7 separate regions of the Homo sapiens genome follow, and regions 1, 2, 3, 4, 5 and 7 are each linked to region 6. The links are contacts of gene promoters, found by promoter capture Hi-C in blood cells and fetal thymus (Javierre and others, 2016). All regions are on one chromosome and are shown on one strand. The core of a region is centred on a gene start or on the middle of the fragment in contact, and the rest is flanking DNA. Distances in the headings are between cores, read along the strand shown.

Region 1 (2,700 bases), core at 1-2,500, 660 kb after region 6:
ATGTTGAACCAGCCTTGCATCCCAGGGATGAAGCCCACTTGATCATGGTGGATAAGCTTTTTGATGTGTTGCTGGATTTGGTTTGCCAGTATTTTATTGAGGATTTTTGCATCAATGTTCATCAAGGATATTGGCCTAAAATTCTCTTTTTTTGTTGTGTCTCTGCCAGTCTTTGGTATCAGGATGATGCTGGCCTCATAAAATGAGTTGGGGAGGATTCCCTCTTTTTCTATTGATTGGAATAGTTTCAGAAGGAATGGTACCAGCTCCTCCTTGTACCTCTGGTAGAGTTCGGCTGTGAATCCATCTGGTCCTGGACTTTTTTTGGTTGGTAAGCTATTAAGGATTGCCTCAATTTCAGATCCTGTTATTGGTCTATTCAGAGATTCAACTTCTTCCTGGTTTAGTCTTGGGAGGGTGTATGTGTCCAGGAATTTATCCATTTCTTCTAGATTTTCTAGTTTATTTGCATAGAGGTGTTTATGGTATTCTCTGATGGTAGTTTGTATTTCTGTGGGATCGGTGGTGATATCCCCTTTGTCATTTTTTATTGCGTCTATTTGATTTTTCTCTCTTTTCTTCTTTATTAGTCTTGCTAGCAGTCTATCAATTTTGTTGATCTTTTCAAAAAAAAAACCAGCTCCTGGATTCATTGATTTTTTGAAGGGTCTTTTGTGTCTCTATTTCCTTCAGTTCTGCTCTGATCTTAGTTATTTCTTGCCTTTTGCTAGCTTTTCAATGTGTTTGCTCTTGCTTCTCTAGTTCTTTCAATTGTGATGTTAGGGTGTCAATTTTAGATCTTTCCTGCTTACTCTCGTGGGCATTTAGTGCTATAAATTTCCCTCTAAACACTGCTTTGAATGTGTCCCAGAGATTCTGGTATGTTGTGTCTTTGTTCTCGTTGGTTTCAAAGAACATCTTTATTTCTGCCTTCATTTCGTTATGTACCCAGTAGTCATTCAGGAGCACGTTGTTCAGTTTCCATGTAGTTGAGCGGTTTGGAGTGAATGTCTTAATCCTGAGTTCTAGTTTGATTGCACTGTGGTCTGAGAGACAGTTTGTTATAATTTCTGTTCTTTTACATTTGCTGAGGAGTGCTTTACTTCCAACTATGTGGTCAATTTTGGAAAAGGTGTGGTGTGGTGCTGAAAAGAATGTATATGCTGTTGATTTGGGGTGGAGAGTTCTGTAGATGTCTATTAGGTCCGCTTGGTGCAGAGCGGAGTTCAATTCCTGGATATCCTTGTTCACTTTCTGCCTCGTTGATCTGTCTAATGTTGACAGTGGGGTGTTAAAGTCTCCCATTATTATTGTGTGGGAGTCTAAGTCTCTTTGTAGGTCACTAAGGACTTGCTTTATGAATCTGGGTGCTCCTGTATTGGGTGCATATATATTTAGGATAGTTAGTTCTTCGTGTTGAACTGATCCCTTTACCATTATGTAATGGCCTTGTCTCTTTTGATCTTTGTTGGTTTAAACTCTGTTTTATCTGAGATCAGGATTGCAACGCCTGCCTTTTTTTGTTTTCCATTTGCTTGGTAGATCTTCCTCCATCCCTTTATTTTGAGCCTATGTGTGTCTCTGCACGTGAGACGGGTTTCCTGAATACAGCACACTGATGGGTCTTGACTCTTTATCCAATTATCCAGCACTTGATTTCTATTAGATCCTGTTTTACTTTGGAAATGGACTTTTCTGATTTCACATGCCAAAAAAAAATAATTTGCTTCTTTTTCTTTTTTTTAAACTTTTACTTTAGTTTCAGGGGTACATGTGCAGGTTTGTTATACAGGTAAATTGCGTGTCATGGGGGTTTTGGTGTACGGATTATTTCATCATCCAGGTAATAAACATAGTACCCGACAGGTAGTTTTTCGATCCTCCTCCCACCTAGCACCCTCCAGTAAGCCCTGGTGTCTGTTATTCCTTCTTTATGACCATATGTTCTCAATGTTTAGCTCCTACTTATAACATGTGGTATTTGGTTTTCTGTTCCTGTGTTAGTTTGCTTAGGATAATGGCCTCCAGCTCTATCCATGCTGCTGCAAAAGACATGGCTGCATAGTATTCTATGCTGTGTATGTACCACATTTCTTTATCCAGTCCACCACTGATGGGCATTGAAGTTGATTTTATGTCTTTGCTATTATAAAGAGTGATTATTCTCTAACTTAGCTCAGCAATGCCTTTAAAGATCATATTCAGGCTCTCCCTAATTTTCCTACTGTTTCTTATCAGTTCACTTCCTAGGTCCTTTCACAACAATACACTTGCTCTTCCCAAACACCCCCTGTACTTATCATAATACTTACCAATCTCTTCACCCTAGTTCATGTTTTTTACACTTGGTCTGCAACCTGGACGGCTTCCCTGCAATCTTCATATATTAAATCTACCAAACTTTAAAGGACTGGCTTAAATGGTAACTTCCTCCTAAAGCTTTCCAGATATCCTTCAGATAGAAGTAATATTTCCCACTTTCAAAATTCCTAATTCTTTCCTTATATAATAGTCCTAATTCATGTTGGGGGTTTAGATGTGTTTCAGAATCCAGGATGTTTGGGATTTTAGAAAAAAGTAGCAAATATGTACACCTTGAGGGAAGTCTAAAGCACCCTGTAATCAAACTCGTTAGTATTTCTGTAGTGAAAGATGAATATTCACTAATAAATAAGAGAAATAAATATCTTAATAGCCTCA
Region 2 (2,863 bases), core at 114-2,613, 540 kb after region 6:
TCAAACTGAGTACTTATTAAACACCTTTAATGTTCAAGACCCAGGGAGGTACTTCTCTGAATATGGAAAGGTTAGTGTACCACTTAAACACAGTACACTGATTTACCATCTCTTGTTTGTACAGAATTAAATAGTCTAGACAATTTAATTATTTTAATTGATCAGTGTAAGTTGTTGTGAACAATTCAGAATAAAAGCTCCAAGTACAAGTACTTTCTTTCCACATTATTCTTCTCATCTTCAGTTCACATATGAAAACTAAAGCCTCCTAAACTTAAGATTATAAAGTACTGCAAAGTACAGTAGTCACTAACGTGAAAAAAAAAACTACTACTTTCCATGGCTGTCTATAGCTCAACTCTCTGAAAAATATACAGTCGGTTTGAAGTCTTTTGTGAAATCCCTTGTGAGACTCTACTGTTGACTGTGGTTAGAATACATTCAAAAGTATAATCAGATTGCATCATCACCATCACCTGCTCAGAGGCAAGTTGAAGAAACATGTGCTCATGAGGCTGAAGCTGGCTTATTGTACTACACTCTCATGTGGGCTTGCCAGAGAGATTAGTCACCATTTTGCAGCTGGTTTCAAATTCAGTTGCTGCGATACAAGTGCAGATGCAATGGCTTACCCTAATTATATTGCTCCAGTTTAATCTTTCCATTTGTAGCATACTATATACTGGATCAAATTCAAGACTCTGGATTGGTTTCAAATAGAAGAGATTTCAAAATCACACATTTGTTATCCTCTCCTAAAGCTTGCTGATCATATTTCATCATTGTATCTGCTAGATCTTCTGAATTCACCCTAAAGGTGTTTTTAGCTCTCTAAACCATCACTAAATCTTGATAATTAATAAAAATGCAGAAAAAAACAGTTCTTAAAGCTTTTTTTAACACAATAAAAGGAAAGTTATGTCATCTCCAAAAATACTCATATGTTTTTTAAAATTTCAATTTTCTTCCTCTTTGGAATTAAATATATGAGCAAATTCTAAGGAAATTAATTGTAATCAGTGGTTTCTAAACTTAACTGATGGTCAAAATCACTTGGGAAGCTTTAAAACACACATACATTTCCCCCACTTCACCCTGTACCTGTTGAGTCATAATTTAAAGAGGTTTCTTTTTAAATTAATCTAGAAGTTAAATAAAGCTAATGCTGGTATTGCTTCTGAGAGTCAGAAAGAAAAAAGAAAGGTTCCTGCCTATCTCATGCAGGTCTTTTTAACTGCCTGCTACTGTCCATATTTAATAAATGCCATCTGTCAAGAATGATGTCTATACAAAGAGATGATGTAATCAGAAGAACTTTAAAATAAAAGAAAAAATAAAATCCTAGCATCATCAGATCCACAGAAGCTACTCAGATAAGAGGCTCCAAGAGGACATTTTTGGATGTGAAAAACAATGAGAAGGAGGACAACACACATTTACAATCGTCTTAATTTTGTAAGTATCTGTTTGAATTTGTTGGATACATAGTTTTTTCCTTCAAAATAACTTAAAGGTATTATTTTGAAGACACACATAGTCAAGTTTAGATTATGCATTTTTACTCCGTTCTTATTCATTTGTTCCATGCTAGTGCTGGGAATATGGTGGTAAGAACAGACAACCCATGCCCTCACTATGCATACAGTATCATCGATGGCATTATAAAAATATCAAAATAGTTTTATGGTTAAAATAAACTATAAGAAATTCACATAAGTATATTTCAAAATACCCTTGGGGATAAAAATAACACATTCAAGTTACAGCTGACACATTATTTGGAAAAATCACTCAAGTTCTGCAATTTCTTCTTCCCAAATTAATACCAGTTTTACTTTCTTATCTGATCTAAAATTTATAACTTATTATACAACAATGTGAAGTTAATAAGTGAATGGTATATCACAGGTTATTCAACACACTGCTAAAATTAAAAATCATTGTGTCAATTCTAAAAACTAGATTTCCCTAAACTCTAAAAGCTACACAACTATGACAAACAGAATCTACAGCACTCTGTGACTCTTAATATTACAATTAAACATCAAGTTTATTAATAGAAAAGTTTGGTAAACAGATTTTCACATGACATAATGTGTCAATTTGATAATTATGGCCAATCATAAACTTAAGCATAAAAGGTGATGGTAAGATAAAAACAAAATCTTGAGGACAAAATTTCAAACTCATGCTCTCATCCAGGCCAGAGTTCCTGAACTATACAATGACAAACTAACTTCTTTGTTAAACTGCATTTTACTCTTTACAAATACAAGTAGTTTTCCAAATACTCCATGCTGTTGATGCCCCAAAGTGGGAAAAACAGATGAATTAAATAAATAGAGGCCATGTTAGCCAATGTGATTGAGACCATTTCTTCATTTAATAAAAAAATCAGTTAAAGTGGGAAATCATAAAAAATACATGCATACCTTAAACATTTTACTTCAAAACAATAAATCATATTCATTTAATAAAGTAAATACTTCTGAAGTAGCAGAGTTGTCTGAGGTAAATACCTGAGGTTATCGTCTCACGCCAAAGAAACTGAAGGACGAGGACACACAAGGAGTGAGTTTAAGAGTGGAGTTTTAATAGATGAAAGAAACAGGAGGCTGGGCGAGGTGGCTTATGCCTGTAATTCCAGCACTTTGGGATGCTGAGGCAGGCGGATCACTTGGGGTCAGGAGTTCGAGACCAGCCAGGCCAACGTGGTGAAACCCAGTCTCTACCAAAAATACGAAAATTAGCTGGGCGTGGTGGCGCATACCGGTAGTCCCAGCTACGCGGGAGGCAGAGGTGAGAGAATCGCTTGAACCCGGGAGACGGAGGTTGCAGTGAGCCAAGATCATGCCATTGCACT
Region 3 (2,700 bases), core at 192-2,691, 640 kb after region 6:
GACAGGAGTTCAAAGCTGTAGTGCACTAGGATCACACCTGTGAATAGCCACTGCACTCCAGCCTGGGCAATATAGCAAGACCCTGTCAAGGAAGGAAGGAAGAAAGGAAAGGAGGAAGGGAGGAAGGGAGGAGAGGGAGGAGAGGGAGGAAAGAAACAGTGACAGTGAAAAAACTGACCAAAGCTAACTTTCAAATTATAGCAGAAAAGGTGTAGAAAGAGGGAATTACATATAATTCAGGGCTTTTCCATATAGGTGTTTTTTTTTCCTCAAAGTAAACACCATTAAAATTGAGCATGGAAATGAACAAGCAGTGCATTGTAAATAAATACAAACAGTGAATAGTCATATAAAATCTATGTTTAACCTCATTCAGAATTGAATATATGTAAATTAAAATATTTTCAATATTTTCATCTACTACATGGCTATAAGTAGAAATTTTATAATGCTTAGCGTTGAAGGTGTTGGGAAAACAGGCACTTTCCTATGCTGTTTAGTTTATAGGGAGATAATTAGTTCAACTTTTGGAGGGCTATTTGTCAATATCTATCAAAATGTAAAATACACATAACTTTTGGCTCATAATTCCACCTAATTTATCTGAGAAATTAACTCACTCACAAGTACCCAAAGATTTATACTCAAAGATGCTCACTGCAGTATCATTTGTAAAAACGAATGGAAATACCCTACATTTCTATCAATGGGAGATATAGACATCTAATCACACACCATTCAGTCAGTTTTTAAAAATTAGATATATATAGGCTAATAAGGGAAACTCTTCAAAATACATATTTTAGATAGGAAAAAACCATTAGAGGAGAGTTTATGCAGTATGATCTTATCCAGGCAAAGAGAGAGAGGCAAAGATGAACGCAGACAAACACAGCCAGATGTGGTTTATGTAAAGAACATTTCCTTACATGTGTACAGACTTTAAAGCAGCTTTTCCTAGAAAGTGAGAGTTGGCGTTTAGGGAGGTGACACATAGAGCAGGAAGATAATGGGGCAAACTGCTAAGAAGATATTTACTTCCACTTTATACTTTATGTAATTTTTTTTTCTTGTGATAAGCCTGCATTTTTTCCCAATTTTTTATTGTGGCAAAATACGTATAATATAAAATTTACCAACTTAACCTTTTTTAAGCATACAATTCAATGATATTAAATACATTCATAATTATGTGCAACTATCACCACCATCCATCTCCAAAACTCATTTCATTGTGTAAAACTGAAACTCAGTATCCATTAAACAGTAACTCCCCATTCCCTCCCCTCTAGTCTCTGGCTACCACCTTTCTATTTTCTCTTTCTATGATTTTGACCAATCTAAGTACCTTATACAGGTGGAATCATAAAGTATTTGTCTTTTTGGTTAGATTATTTTGCTTAGCATAATATCCTCAAAATTTATTCATGTTTCAGCATATCAGAATTTCCTTTTTTTTTTTTGTCAGGGTCTTAATCTGTCACTCAGGCTGTATTGCAGTGGTGTGATCATAGCTCACTGCAGCTTTCACCTCTCAGGTTCAAGCAATCCTTCCACCTCAGCCTCCCGAGTAGCTAAGACTACAGGCATGTGCCACCATGTCTGGCCCAGTTTTGTATTTTGTGTAGACATGGGATCTCACCATGTTGCCCAGGCTCTTCTTGAACTCCCAGCCTCAAGCAATCCTCCTACCTCAGCCACCCAAAGTGTCGGGATTTCAGGCGTGAGCCACCATATCCAGCTCCTTTCTTTATAAGGCTGAATAATATTGCTTTGAATATGTATACCACATTTTCCTTATTCATCTGTCCAGGACACTTGAGTTGCTTTCACATTTTAACTATCGTGAATAATGCTGCTATAAATATTGGTACACAAATAACTCTTTGAGACCATTTCAAAAGATTGCTTTCAATTATTTTAAGTATATACCCAGAAGTGCAATTGCTGGATCATATGGTAATTCCTTTTTCTTTCTTTTTTTTTCTTTTTTTTTGAGACAGGGTCTCACTCTATCACGCAGGCTGGAGTGCATTGGCACAAGCATGGCTTGTTGAAGCCTTGAACTCCTGGGCTCAAGTGATCCTTCTGCTTCAGCCGAGACTACAGGTATGCTCCACCATGCCCAACTAATTTTTGGAATTTGTTTTTGTAGAGTTGGGACCTCGCTGTGTTGCCCAGGCTGGTCTTGAACTCCTAGGCTCAAGCAATCCTCCCACCATGGCCTCTCCAAGTGCTGGGATTACAGGTGTGAGCCACCACATCTGCCTGGTAATTTTATTTTTAATTTTTTGAAGAAACACCATACTGTTTCCCACAGTGACTTTACCATGAGCCTGTATCATTTTTATAATAAAAAGTTAGCTTTAAAATTATTGGAAGTTCATATGATATACATCATACTAACAGAAGAATTCATCTGGTCCAGTTCATTGTCTATGAAATATAAGAGTACTAGACTTCAGTGAAGAGACTTGAGATCTAATTTCAGCTTTACCATCCGGTTCGAATACCTCTCCAATTGTCCAAATTGGTAGTTAAGCTGAAAATGACAAACAGGTGAACACTGGCCAGTTGGCAGTTGGTGCCTAGAATACTACGCTGAAAAAGGATCTGAGGGAAAGTGGGAGATTGATGAACCACTTGTGCCAAAGGTAAAGAAGTGTGTGGTCATTCACCACTAGGTCAAGCACAACTTGG
Region 4 (2,771 bases), core at 190-2,689, 810 kb after region 6:
AGAATAATACAAAGAGCACCTATGTATTCCACGGCCCAGCTTTATCAAATGTTAATGTTTTACCACACTGACTCTAGACTTTTTAAAAGAAACATTGTAGGTGTGGCTGAAGGTCCCTGCTGGCACTCCCCAATCCCACTGCCCTCCCTTCTCTCCTCACACATAATCATTATTATGAATTTGGTGTTTATCATTCTTTTGAAGTTTTTATAATTTCCCACACATTTTTATCCATAAACCATATATCACTTTTTTTGTGTCCTTAAACTTTACATGATATATCATTCTGCAATATATTTATAGTCAGCCTTATGTTTTATTTGTGTTTTTGTATGCCTCTAATTCATTGATATTAATCGCGTTATAGTATTCCACTGTATGAAAATATCTCATTTTATATTTATTCATCTTCATGATGGTGGATATTTAAATTGCTTGTCATTCTTTTTGCTTTTGCCAACAATGCTGCCACAAACATTCTGTTTCCTTTTGCACACGTTGGAGGACAAGTTTCTTGACTTGTAGAAGATAGACAGTTAGAGGTAGAATGGGAAGATCATAGAGCGTGCGAGTCTTCAATTGTGATACTACCAAAATCTTGTCCAAAATGCTTGTGCCAGTTTACCTTCCTGCTAGCAGTAGGCGATGATGTTCCTTTCTCTAAATCTGTGCAAATATGAAGTGTGTACAAATATATCTTACTGTGTTATACAAACTGCAAATATCTTCTCCTAGGCTCTGACTTATTTTTTTCACTTAGAGTACTTCTTAGTATACAGAAGTTTTAAATTCTATATTTCTATCCCTTTGTGATTTGTGATTTTTGAATATTATTTTAAAACATTTCTTGACCTGAGATTGATAAAGATATTCTTATGCATTTTTCTGAAAATTTTAGTGTTTTGTTTTTAAAATTTAGGGATTTAACCCACATGGAATTTATTTTTGTGTATGGGTCAATGTAGGGATCTATTTTTTATTACTATAAATAAACAAGTACCCCAGAATCAGTTGTTGAATAGTCCATCTTTACCACACTGATTTGCAGTACCACCTCTTTCATATATGAAGCTTCCATATTTTGAGTATCAGTGCCTGAGCTGTGTATTCTACTCCATTTGTCTATTTATATCTCTCAGTGCTATTACCTCCTTGTCTTGATTATAATAGGTTTATAATATATTTTGTCATCTAAAAGGAAAAATACTCTCATCTTCTTTCTTGGTTATTATTGACTCTAAGATACATGTTTTAGGGTTGGCTTGTCATATTTAACAGGATACCCCATTTGGTTTGCACTAAATCTACAGATTAAATAGCAAGTCTTTCACACCACAGAGTAAAGCTGTAATTTTTCAAGAAAATATTTGTAATTTTCTCCATAAAGGTCTTGTATTTTTTTAGTTAAATTTATTTCCAGATACCTTGAAGAAATTTTTATAATTGTGAATTTTTTTTCTATATCTTTTAACTAACTAGTATAGGTCTATAGGAGAATTTTTTTGTTTTGTTTTGTTTTGTTTTTTGGCATGTTGATTTTGTATCCAGCCACCCTGTGAAATCTGTTTGTGGAATCTCTTGCTTTTTCAGTCCCTATGTACACAATCATACTGTCTGAATATAAAGTTTTGCCTATTATTTTTTAGCTCTTCTTTGATTTTTTTTTTATCATTTTGTACTGCTAGGATCACTTGTACAATGTTTAAAAGAAATGACTTCAAAAGAAGTGCTTCTAAAATTTCACTCTTAAGTGTGATGTTTGCTGAAAGTTTTTGATAGATACCCTTCATTAGGTTAAGGAAGCTTCCTTCTTTTTTGGTTGTACCAAAAGTTACTTATTAAATATAAATGATTACTGGATTTTATCAAATTATGCATCTACTAAGATAATTGTGTTGTTTTCCACTTTTAACTTGTTAATACGATACATTACATTTACAGAGTTTTCAGATGTCAAACCATCCTTGCATTCTTGAGATAAACTCAATTCATTATGTGTACTTTTTTATGATGATCATTCAACTGACTAATCTTTTATTCAGGATTTTTGCTTTTATTTTAATAACTGTATTATCTGATTGGCATATAATAAATGCACATGTTTAAAGTATACAATTTGATGTTTTGAGATATGTGTATACCCTTGGAATCATTACTGCAATCAAGATGATAAATATTTCTGTAACCCTCAGAAGTTACCATCTGTCCTTCTATCCCTCTGTAACTTCTTCTATGTTCACTAATAGGCTTCCCACAGATCTGCTTTCCAATTATCTGCTAACCATTGATCTGTTTTTTGTCATCATAGACTAGTTTGCATTTTCTAGATTTTTATGGAATTATATACTATATGATATTTTCTGGCTTCTTTTAATGCAGCAAAATCTAAGATCCATGTTGTAGCATATATATGAACAGTTCATTCCTTTGTATTGCTGAATAGTATTGTATTATATGGATATACCACAATTTATTTATCCATTCACCTGTGTATAAATTTTGTTTTTTTCCAGATTTGGAATATTATAAATAAAAATTTTAAATAAATTTTATAAATTTTTATAAATTTTATCATAAATAAAATGTTATAAATGAACATTTTTATATGTGTTTGTATGGACATTTGTTTTTATTTTTCTTGGGTAAACACCTAGAAGTCAAATGGCTAGGTCAGAAGGTAGGTATTCATTTAGCTTTCCAAGAAATTGCCAAATCAACTTCCAAAAAAAAAATCTTTGCTTATTATTTTTTCTGGTTATAGAATTATAGTG
Region 5 (2,913 bases), core at 299-2,798, 740 kb after region 6:
TAATACTGACCTCTATGCCAGCAAAACCATTGGTGATGAAGCATTTCTTAAGTATGTTCTGGAATTTTCTCCCATTTCATTCTGTAAGTTTTGAAGTGCATGTGCAAAAAGCAACTACTTTGTCATGACTGAACCTGGTCAACAGCTGTTATAAGACTCATTCTGATTTCAGAGTTGTTAAAATGAGGAAGAAGGTGCATCTTACAATTATCTTACAATTAGTAAAATATGCTATAAGTCAAATGTTTTCCTTTGCCTAGTAAAGGAGCATTTAATATTATTATATTATTGAGCTTTGATGTGTTATATAGAAGAGAAGGATCAGAAATTCTAAAAGTCCACTGAAAATATTTATTTTCTCCTTTTAACTGGCATCTATATATTATACATGTATTTTTGATGGGATGTCTTTTATTTAACTATGCTGAAATTTAATAATATTTTGTTAGCTAGCTCTTGGTAGGTATAAATTTGCCTGGAATAATTTAATAGAGAGAGCAAAACATCCATAAATGTGCAAGGTAAAATTTCTTTGAGAGTGCTCCAGTTGGTTATATACTGAATACAATTTGAAATGCTATTTGAAATTTATTTGAAATACACTTTGAAATGTATTTGAAATACAATTTGAAATGCTGCATACAATTTGAATTTCACTGTGTGTTAATATCATATTTCATTATTGATTCAGTGTGAACGCAAGATTTGTGAATGTGAGAAGGGAGATCCAGGTGATCCAGGGCCTCCTGTGAGTATACTTCCACTTTGAACTTAAGTCAGAAAGTCCTAGCAATGATAGCTCTACTCGCTCTTGAAAACATCGGGGCTATTTTGCACTGCTGAAAAGCAATTGTTTGGAAATGGGAGGAAAAATGGAAATGCTACTTCTTTCTTTTATTTCTAAAGGGACACATTCTATCCTTAGAAATAAGCCTGGGATTTTACTGACCTGAACTGAGGGCAGGTGTGTTTTGAAGTTGTTCCCACAAAGGACATTTATATTCCTCCTCATAAAATAATTGAAGCCAGAATTTCTCAATAGTGAAGTGAATACAGAAAAAGCTAATACAAATAATCAGTGCTTTAAGCAAAGCTTTATCCTACTAGAAACATGGAGTACAAGCCTCTCTGAAAGTTAAATGTTGGCTTCACACGAATGCAGCAGTGCAGCAGCAACACCGTGTGGCCTCATGGACAGGAAGCTGGTCACGATGCTTTGGGGGATTAGGGTGAGTTCTGTGAAATGGAAGTAAGCACATGGCAACCAAAAATAAATGGCAGGATTGACTATGATGATTCATTGTTTGATAAGATAATCCAGGAAGGAGTGCTTTCTTTATATTCTGGCCTAATAACTGGTAGGTGCCATGTCTGTACTGGGAAGGCATTTGAAATGACATCTAGATCACTGGAAATGCTGAGCATTTTTTTAACATTTATCTTCATAAAGCATTCACGTGCTCATTCAGTCTTCTATTTATTTGTATAATTCCAAATATCATCCTTAGAGTTCAGAAGAAGCCCTATGGAGAATCTCACAAAATGCATGGATAAAAATTTTCAACTAATGCTTGTATTTGGGGGTGGGAGGGGAATGTGTACTGTGAATGAATTAGAATGTGACAAATTTTACCTTGAGACTCGGGTCCAAAGCCTACAATTTTTCAAACCATCCTACCAATCAAGGGATGTTTTTCTCCCCAAATACAAAGTTAGATGCGTTATATGATAGTGGGGCAGCCAGTAGAAGCTGACTTTGGCTAAAGCAAAGGTTTAGCCATCCCTTCCTATAAAGTCTTCGTTTATCTCTATGACACCAAGAGATGGCCAGGGTAAGAAATATTTCTTTATATTTTAAAATGAGCAATAAGAAAGCTCACAATTGCTAAGCACCTGACAATTTTAGTCACATTCTTGTCACATTTTAGTAGGGATAAGCCACAGAATATGTTATTTAACATTATCGAGTACCCCCAACACCATTTCTCAGAAAAGCAAGCTTTCTGGTTGATTAGGAACAGGAAAACAAAATGCTTTTCTGGAACAGGATTACAGAGCTCCTTTCTCCCATCTTTTGAGATTGTCTCCTGGATATCAGAACCTCTTTGACCAAAGGCAAGCAAGCTAGCTTGGTCCTTTTAAAAGTGAGTGACAGAGGGAATCGTAGAAGTGACCCACAATGAAGAGAGATTGGGAACAACTCCTATCCTTCTGCCTGTTGCAGCTACTCTTTTAAATCTTTGCATGAGTTTGATTTTGTTTGCAAAACTGCTGAGAAGTGATTGTTTTGGGAAGAAGTAATTGGTGGGAAGAGAGAAACATTATTCTCTTTTGAGCAAATCTAGAAAATCTGCCAATTCAAGACAGTGGTTTTCCTGGTGTAGAAAAAGGGAGAAGAGAATTGAATTTCTGCTTGGCAGGTAAAGGTTTTACAATTCTCCCTCATTCTAGGAAACAAAACTGATCAGAAATTATTATAAAGTATAGAAAACAATAGAATTCCTACTTAAAATAATATTTTTTCCCTTTGCCTTCAGGGTACACATGGAAATCCAGGTATCAAAGGTGAGCGAGGACCAAAAGGAAACCCGGTAAATGAATAAACAGCTTTTCTTTAAACCAGCGTATCTCCTTCTAGACTTTTTTTTTAAAACAACAATTTTAAAAATAAAAAGCATTGTAGTATATGGCAAAAATGTGACAACTTTTGTGAAGAATACAGGATTTCCACTTCCTATATTATCTATCTTATTTCTATTAGCTTGAATTCACAAATTCTGAGTAACATATATGAACATTTTAGTCAGTAAGTTTAGGAAACCTAGGGACATTGAATAAACAGAAACTAGTACTTAAACGATAGCAGCCAATCTTATTTAGGATGATGATTCAGCAACTAGTAATATGTGTTCC
Region 6 (2,700 bases), core at 190-2,689:
ATTTGCTATTTTGTAGACCATATTCATGATTTGTTTACTCATACACACTTACTAAGGAGATGTTTACTCAGCTCCAAAATTCGTGTTAAGACTAGGACAGGCTCAAATCTATGACAAACAGAATCCCCAAAGAATAACTTTAAAGGTTATGTAAATTTCTGGAGGTATCTTATTATCTTTCTATTAAAATGTCAACATATTCTATACTTTTTCTCCATCCATTCTGGCAAGACACCATGCTATCTTGAGATTAAGCTAAGTCTCCTGGTTCAGATTCAAATCCCTGCTCAATAATCTCTTTATGGCACTCTGGGCAGTGTCTTCATCTGTGAAATCGGGATAATGATTTTATCTACAGTATTGGGTTGCTGTAAGGATTAAATATAAAGCATACAGCATGTGCCGGACATAGAGCTAGCACTCCATCCATGTTAGCGCAGGATTTCTGATTCGTCAGCATCATTACTCAATAACTATCATTCGGCCCTTTTAAATTGTTTCAGCGACGACTGAATGAACTTATTTATAAATGTATAACATAACTAGGGATGAAGTCATACTACATTGAGGTTTCATTTCCACATAGATAATATTAGGAAGCAGCTATGCCAACACTTTTTCTTCCTGTGATCTGTATACTGCAGGGTCTCTAGAAACAATGGTTTGGTTCTTTCCTGGTGACAAAGGATAAGAGAAGATGAAACTGCTACAAATGGCAATAACTTAAAAATAAAAGATACAGAAATATATGGAAATGAAAAACATATACCTATACATACACAGCTGTTTTTAAAACATGACCTTTATTCTCGAAGCTCAAACTTGATTTCCAGGTACAGCAGGCCTCTGTAACTTTTCTTGGCAGTGAAGTCATGAAGTCTCCTGTCCTCTAAAGCTACAGAAATTTAACCTGGAAGCAAGCAGTAGGCACTACGCACAGCACAGAGGGAACCCTGGGGTGTACGCTGTGGCTCCCACCTGTCCGCCAGGTCATTGTGACGCAAACGCTATGGCCACGTGGAACACCTGCCGGAGAGCAGGGGCGGGGTCACTCTGGGCGGCGGATCCGAGCGGGGGATACCCCAGGAGATGGGGGTCGAGGAGAGACCCCGGGGAGTAGAGAGAGAGAAACTCACTCCCCGAGTCCCCGACCCTCCCCAAGCAAGGTGAGGTCAACGCCACCCACCTTCCCCCGGTCACCCTGGGAGGGGTCGCTCCGGCGGGCGTCTGCTGGAGGGTAGAAGCGGGGAAGGGAGGCAGCGGCGGCGCCCAGGCGGCGGTAGGTAGCCGGGCGGCGAGGGCGCCCGCACCCCCCGGCCGCTGCGCTGCGCTGCGGTGCGCACGGGCTCCGCCGGTTGCTATTCCGGCTGGTGGCGGCCGCCGCAGGAAGGGCCGGTTCCTGCGCTCCCCCCGCCCCTTTCCCTCGCCTTCGGCTGACGCTGACGTCGGATGAGTGATCCGGAGGGACGCTCCGACCGCGGCCGGGAGGCTCCTGGGGGCCGGGGCTCCGAGGTACCTGCCCTCCGGGGTCGGGGCGGGGGCGCGCCGGGCGGGCTGCAGGAAGCAGCAGGAGACGCCCGGCAGCCGGGACGGTCGGGGACGCCTGGTAGGAGCTGCCTTCTCTGCCCTCCGCGGGCGGCGCGTGATAGGCGAGTCGCCTCCTCGGGTCCCGGATCCCGGTGCGGGAACCGCATCAGCCCCTTCCCCTCCCCTCCTCCCTCCGGCCTGGGAAGGTCTGGAGGATGCGCGCGCCGTGAGAGCGTGCGTCAGCCCCGGGGGAGCGGTAGGGAAGCGTTCCGCGCTCCGGCCCCAGCGCTGGGAGCACCGGCACCCATGCCAGCCCACCCCACCCACCCACCGCGCGCCTCGCCTTCCCGGCGGCTCCGGCCCCAGGACCCCGAGCTCCCTGGTGGGCAGGGACTTGCGTCCAGGGTTGACTTGTTGACAAGTTCACCTGCCGCGGCGCCTGGTGTGTGCTTTTTCTCTTCCCCTCCGTGGCCCTTTTTTTGGCAGGGGCGGCAGAGAGCATATGGGTACCTCTTTATAACCACTAGTGCCAGGAGGCCTGAGCTTGGTCCCCCGGGGGCGAGGTGCTCAGCAGTCTCGGACTAGACGGGGCGAGAACCCCTAAGCAACCCCGGTTCCAGCAAACCCTGGCGCGCCCGTTTCCTTTGGGCGCTGCTGACTCCGCCTTTCCTGCTCCGGGGCTATTGCAGCTCCTGCTTCCTCTAGAAACGAACATATCCTGTTGTTATGTCTGCCTTTCCCCCAAAGCGGCTCTCCAGGAACCTTTCCCACTGTCTTTTTACTTGTAGTACCCCCAAAGCACCTGAGCTTCTCTTTGGGGTCTTAAAAGTATCGCGCCCTTATTCTGGCGAAGGGCATTAACTGCCTGGTTGGGGAGAGTTAGTTTGGAAAGAATCGCGTTCTCTTCATTTAGATGGCATTAAAAAATTAGCGCAAGAAAGGGTTTTGTTCATGAATCTTAGTAACCGAGATCTGGTAACGGTATAAAAATTATCAAGGCCTGGAAAATATGTCACCAGCTTGCTTGGGAGTGATACTGAATGTAGGAAGAAAGACACATAAGGCATTTATTGGCCATTAAGGTCCTATAAAATATGACTCATCGCAAACATGTTTTTGTCCATACGTTTCAGTGAAGTCTCTTCGGAAAATCTCAAATTGGTTTCTGTGGCC
Region 7 (2,700 bases), core at 104-2,603, 720 kb after region 6:
AAATAGATCTGATCTTTCTCTATTTGTAGGCTCTGCATGAAAAAGTTAAAACTGCTCTATCCATTGACCAAAGAAAATAATTAAAGAAAAATATTGAACATTCAAACCTATGATAGGACTAGATCAATCTACTTTCAGATATTTCTTAGAAAAAAAATTGTAAAACTTTCCAGATGGCACCTTGATTTATTTTTGGTCTAAAATAATTGCATTTAGTCAGGAATAAACAACATGGAAAGAAGAAATATTAATATTGAAAAAATATTTTAGAGAAAGAGATTAATAGTCATAAGATTGGTATAACGGGAATTTAGCCTGTCACTGTAGCCTATGAGGCACTGTGTGTTGCAAATGTGACACAATTATTCAAGCTGGGGATTGAATGACAAATAATGAAGCAAGAGATCTTAGGGAGTAAACGATATAAAAGATAATTGAGTCCGTGTTGCTGTACCCCGAAACTGCTCTAAACCATAAAGTTTATTAAATAATAGTAACAATTGAAAAATAGTAGAGGGAATGTGGAAGGATCAACTCAATCAGAATTTGGTGAGGGCATAGGAACTGAAGTCACGCTGTTCCACATTTAAGCAATGCCACATCCTGTATTTTATTACCAATGATAATTTTTATTTTCTTATTGTCTTTGAATGCTTTTAATCTTTCCCTTTGTTGACAAATAAGACCAATACAGTTTTGGTGTTTGCCATGGTTTGCATATTTGCCCCCTCCAAACCTCGTGTTGAAATTTCATCCCCACTGTTGGAAGTGGGGCCTGATGGGAAACGTTTGGGTCATGTGGGTGGATCCCTTATGAATGACTTAATGCCATCCTTGCGGTAATGAGTGTGTTCTCTCTGTATTAGTTCCTGGGGGAGCTGATTCTTTAAAAGAGTCTGACACCTCTCTCCCTGCTCTCTTGCTCCCTCTTACCATATGATCTGCACACGCTGGTCCCCTTTCACCTTCTGCCATGAGTAGAAGCAGTCAATGGCCCTCACCAGAAGCAGATGCTGGTGTCATGCTTCTTGCATAGACTGCAGAATTGTAAGCCAAATAAACCTCTTTTCTTTATAGATTACTCAGCCTTAGGTATTCCTTTATAGCAACACAAAATGGACTAAGACAGTGTTCCTCTAATTACTGATGAAGGAGTTGAGAGAATGCCTAGGTCATATTCTGGGTCCAAGGATAATGAATCCCAGAAATTTCAGAGCTTTGGGGCAGGTGTTAGAAATTCTACTATATCAAGCTTTTCTACTGACAAAAAGAAGAAAGAGAAAGAAAGAAAGAAAAAGAAAAAAAGAAAGAAAGAAAGGAAAGGATCTTCAAGAACAAATTTCTTCAAATCAGGTACGAAGGTCATTAATTTCTTCCTTGTTAGTTGGTAATGTTTTTTTTTTTCTACTCTAGATCAGCAGTGTGGGAGGTGGCTAAAATAGGGAGAAGCTTGTGAAACTATACTATGCCTTAATCTTGGTCAAAATATATAACTTTGATTTGTTACCAGCCTTTTTTTGTGTGTATTTCTATGACTTCATGCAGATACAATTCTCTGAAATATGTAAGTCCTAGCAGACTTGTCTCTTTTTAAATGATTCTAGGACCCCAAAATATCATCACCACTGAAATTAAGATGTTGGCACTGGTACTAGAATCAATAAACACAATGCAGATGCTACTATGGTAGCATATTAAAAGAATTTGAAAAAGTTGAAAAAAGATTTTCATCTAGCAGAGCTTTGGAGAAGAGCAATTTATTGTATCACAGACCTCAAGTGACTGATAAACACTAAAAATTACTTCTAATAATCATTTATTTCACAAATATGACTGCTTACTCTGGGCTATTTATAGTAGTAACAATGAAAATAGTGTGCTATATTTCTTCCATAAAGACTTTTACTACAAAATAACTGTCAGAAGGGCATGGGCTCCACGTTGCCTTTTTCTAGTCATTATGGTTATCCATGCTCTCTTATTTGTTCTGGTGTAAGTCCAATAGCATACTAATTCAAGACCATCTGTTGGGATTAAGATTGTGGTGCATTGTTTCTCTGGGTGCAAAACTAATTGTCTTTTATAGATTGATGAAACTGAAGATTTTATTTTGCATAATCTTCCCAATTAATTTAGTGCTGATTTTCACGCTTGAGAATGAGAGGTGGCAAATCTTTGGTTTGAGTTACCCTATTTAATGTTGGAGAATGAAAGGGAATGGATGACTAAGTTGGACTCCAACCTCCCACCAACTTTAATCAAAACAGCTCCAAGGCAGGAGGGCTTTAGTCCATTTCCCCCATCTAGGAATCACCTGTTTGCTTCTTAGTGGCATTATTATTCTGCATGTTTTTAACCTGCCTCAGCAAAAAGAGAGTTGACCTGAAAAGATGCTACTTCCTTGTCTCTTGATTCTCATCTTACAAAAGTAAAAAGTGTGACTAACACCCATAGGCTATCAGGTAAATACATGGTTGTTCCCTAGGAAATTCCGTTGTTATTTCTGCATTATACCCACCGTTTCTTCTTTCTGTTACCAAAGCCTCACAAAACTTCCTCAGTTCCTCGAAACCTGTTTTGTGAGGAGGAGACAGTGAAAACACAGACGTTCGCATAGATACTTAATGATGCAGTAGTTGTTATAAGTGAGGCTCACAGGTCTTACCAGCCTGAGTTAAAAGTTCATTTTGCCATTCTCTG

Evidence for each region. The method cuts DNA at HindIII sites, captures the fragments that hold promoters and counts their contacts. A CHiCAGO score of 5 or more calls a contact.
Region 1: a fragment that was not itself captured here is called in contact with the fragment with the promoter of ICA1 in region 6 in 1 of 17 cell types (erythroblasts); the score reaches 9.1 in erythroblasts.
Region 2: a contact is called between the fragment with the promoter of RPA3 here and the fragment with the promoter of ICA1 in region 6, in 14 of 17 cell types (M2 macrophages, neutrophils, total CD4 T cells and 11 more). The highest score is 11.7, in M2 macrophages.
Region 3: a fragment that was not itself captured here is called in contact with the fragment with the promoter of ICA1 in region 6 in 3 of 17 cell types (erythroblasts, fetal thymus and M0 macrophages); the score reaches 6.4 in erythroblasts.
Region 4: a contact is called between a fragment that was not itself captured here and the fragment with the promoter of ICA1 in region 6, in 1 of 17 cell types (fetal thymus). The highest score is 5.6, in fetal thymus.
Region 5: a fragment that was not itself captured here is called in contact with the fragment with the promoter of ICA1 in region 6 in 1 of 17 cell types (naive B cells); the score reaches 5.7 in naive B cells.
Region 7: a fragment that was not itself captured here is called in contact with the fragment with the promoter of ICA1 in region 6 in 6 of 17 cell types (total B cells, fetal thymus, M0 macrophages and 3 more); the score reaches 10.7 in total B cells.

What each region holds. Positions count from the first base shown.
Region 1 is chr7:7,599,220-7,601,919 of GRCh38, reverse strand. All of the region lies in intron 11 of MIOS (meiosis regulator for oocyte development), which reads right to left. Among named protein-coding and RNA genes, the nearest start is that of MIOS, 34 kb to the right of the region's middle. The HindIII fragment of the contact is 2,383 bases long and covers 59-2,441 here.
Region 2 is chr7:7,717,107-7,719,969 of GRCh38, reverse strand. It overlaps RPA3 (replication protein A3), which reads left to right and starts at 1,363. Exons shown (of 8, transcript NM_002947.5): 1 at 1,363-1,455. The region is part of intron 2 of UMAD1 (UBAP1-MVB12-associated (UMA) domain containing 1); the gene reads right to left. The HindIII fragment of the contact is 2,432 bases long and covers 1,064-2,863 here.
Region 3 is chr7:7,615,972-7,618,671 of GRCh38, reverse strand. No RefSeq gene overlaps it. Among named protein-coding and RNA genes, the nearest start is that of UMAD1, 23 kb to the left of the region's middle. The HindIII fragment of the contact is 5,558 bases long and covers 1-2,700 here.
Region 4 is chr7:7,448,432-7,451,202 of GRCh38, reverse strand. All of the region lies in intron 18 of COL28A1 (collagen type XXVIII alpha 1 chain), which reads left to right. Among named protein-coding and RNA genes, the nearest start is that of COL28A1, 86 kb to the left of the region's middle. The HindIII fragment of the contact is 732 bases long and covers 1,074-1,805 here.
Region 5 is chr7:7,519,740-7,522,652 of GRCh38, reverse strand. It overlaps COL28A1 (collagen type XXVIII alpha 1 chain), which reads left to right. Exons shown (of 35, transcript NM_001037763.3): 5 at 692-748; 6 at 2,538-2,591. Among named protein-coding and RNA genes, the nearest start is that of COL28A1, 15 kb to the left of the region's middle. The HindIII fragment of the contact is 906 bases long and covers 1,096-2,001 here.
Region 6 is chr7:8,260,906-8,263,605 of GRCh38, reverse strand. ICA1 (islet cell autoantigen 1) reads left to right here and starts at 1,439. Exons shown (of 14, transcript NM_001136020.3): 1 at 1,439-1,512. It overlaps ICA1-AS1 (ICA1 antisense RNA 1), which reads right to left and starts at 1,381. Exons shown (of 6, transcript NR_125740.1): 1 at 1,187-1,381; 2 at 780-1,026. The HindIII fragment of the contact is 9,065 bases long and covers 1-2,700 here.
Region 7 is chr7:7,537,560-7,540,259 of GRCh38, reverse strand. It overlaps a transcript of COL28A1 not described here. Among named protein-coding and RNA genes, the nearest start is that of COL28A1, 3.0 kb to the right of the region's middle. The HindIII fragment of the contact is 197 bases long and covers 1,255-1,451 here.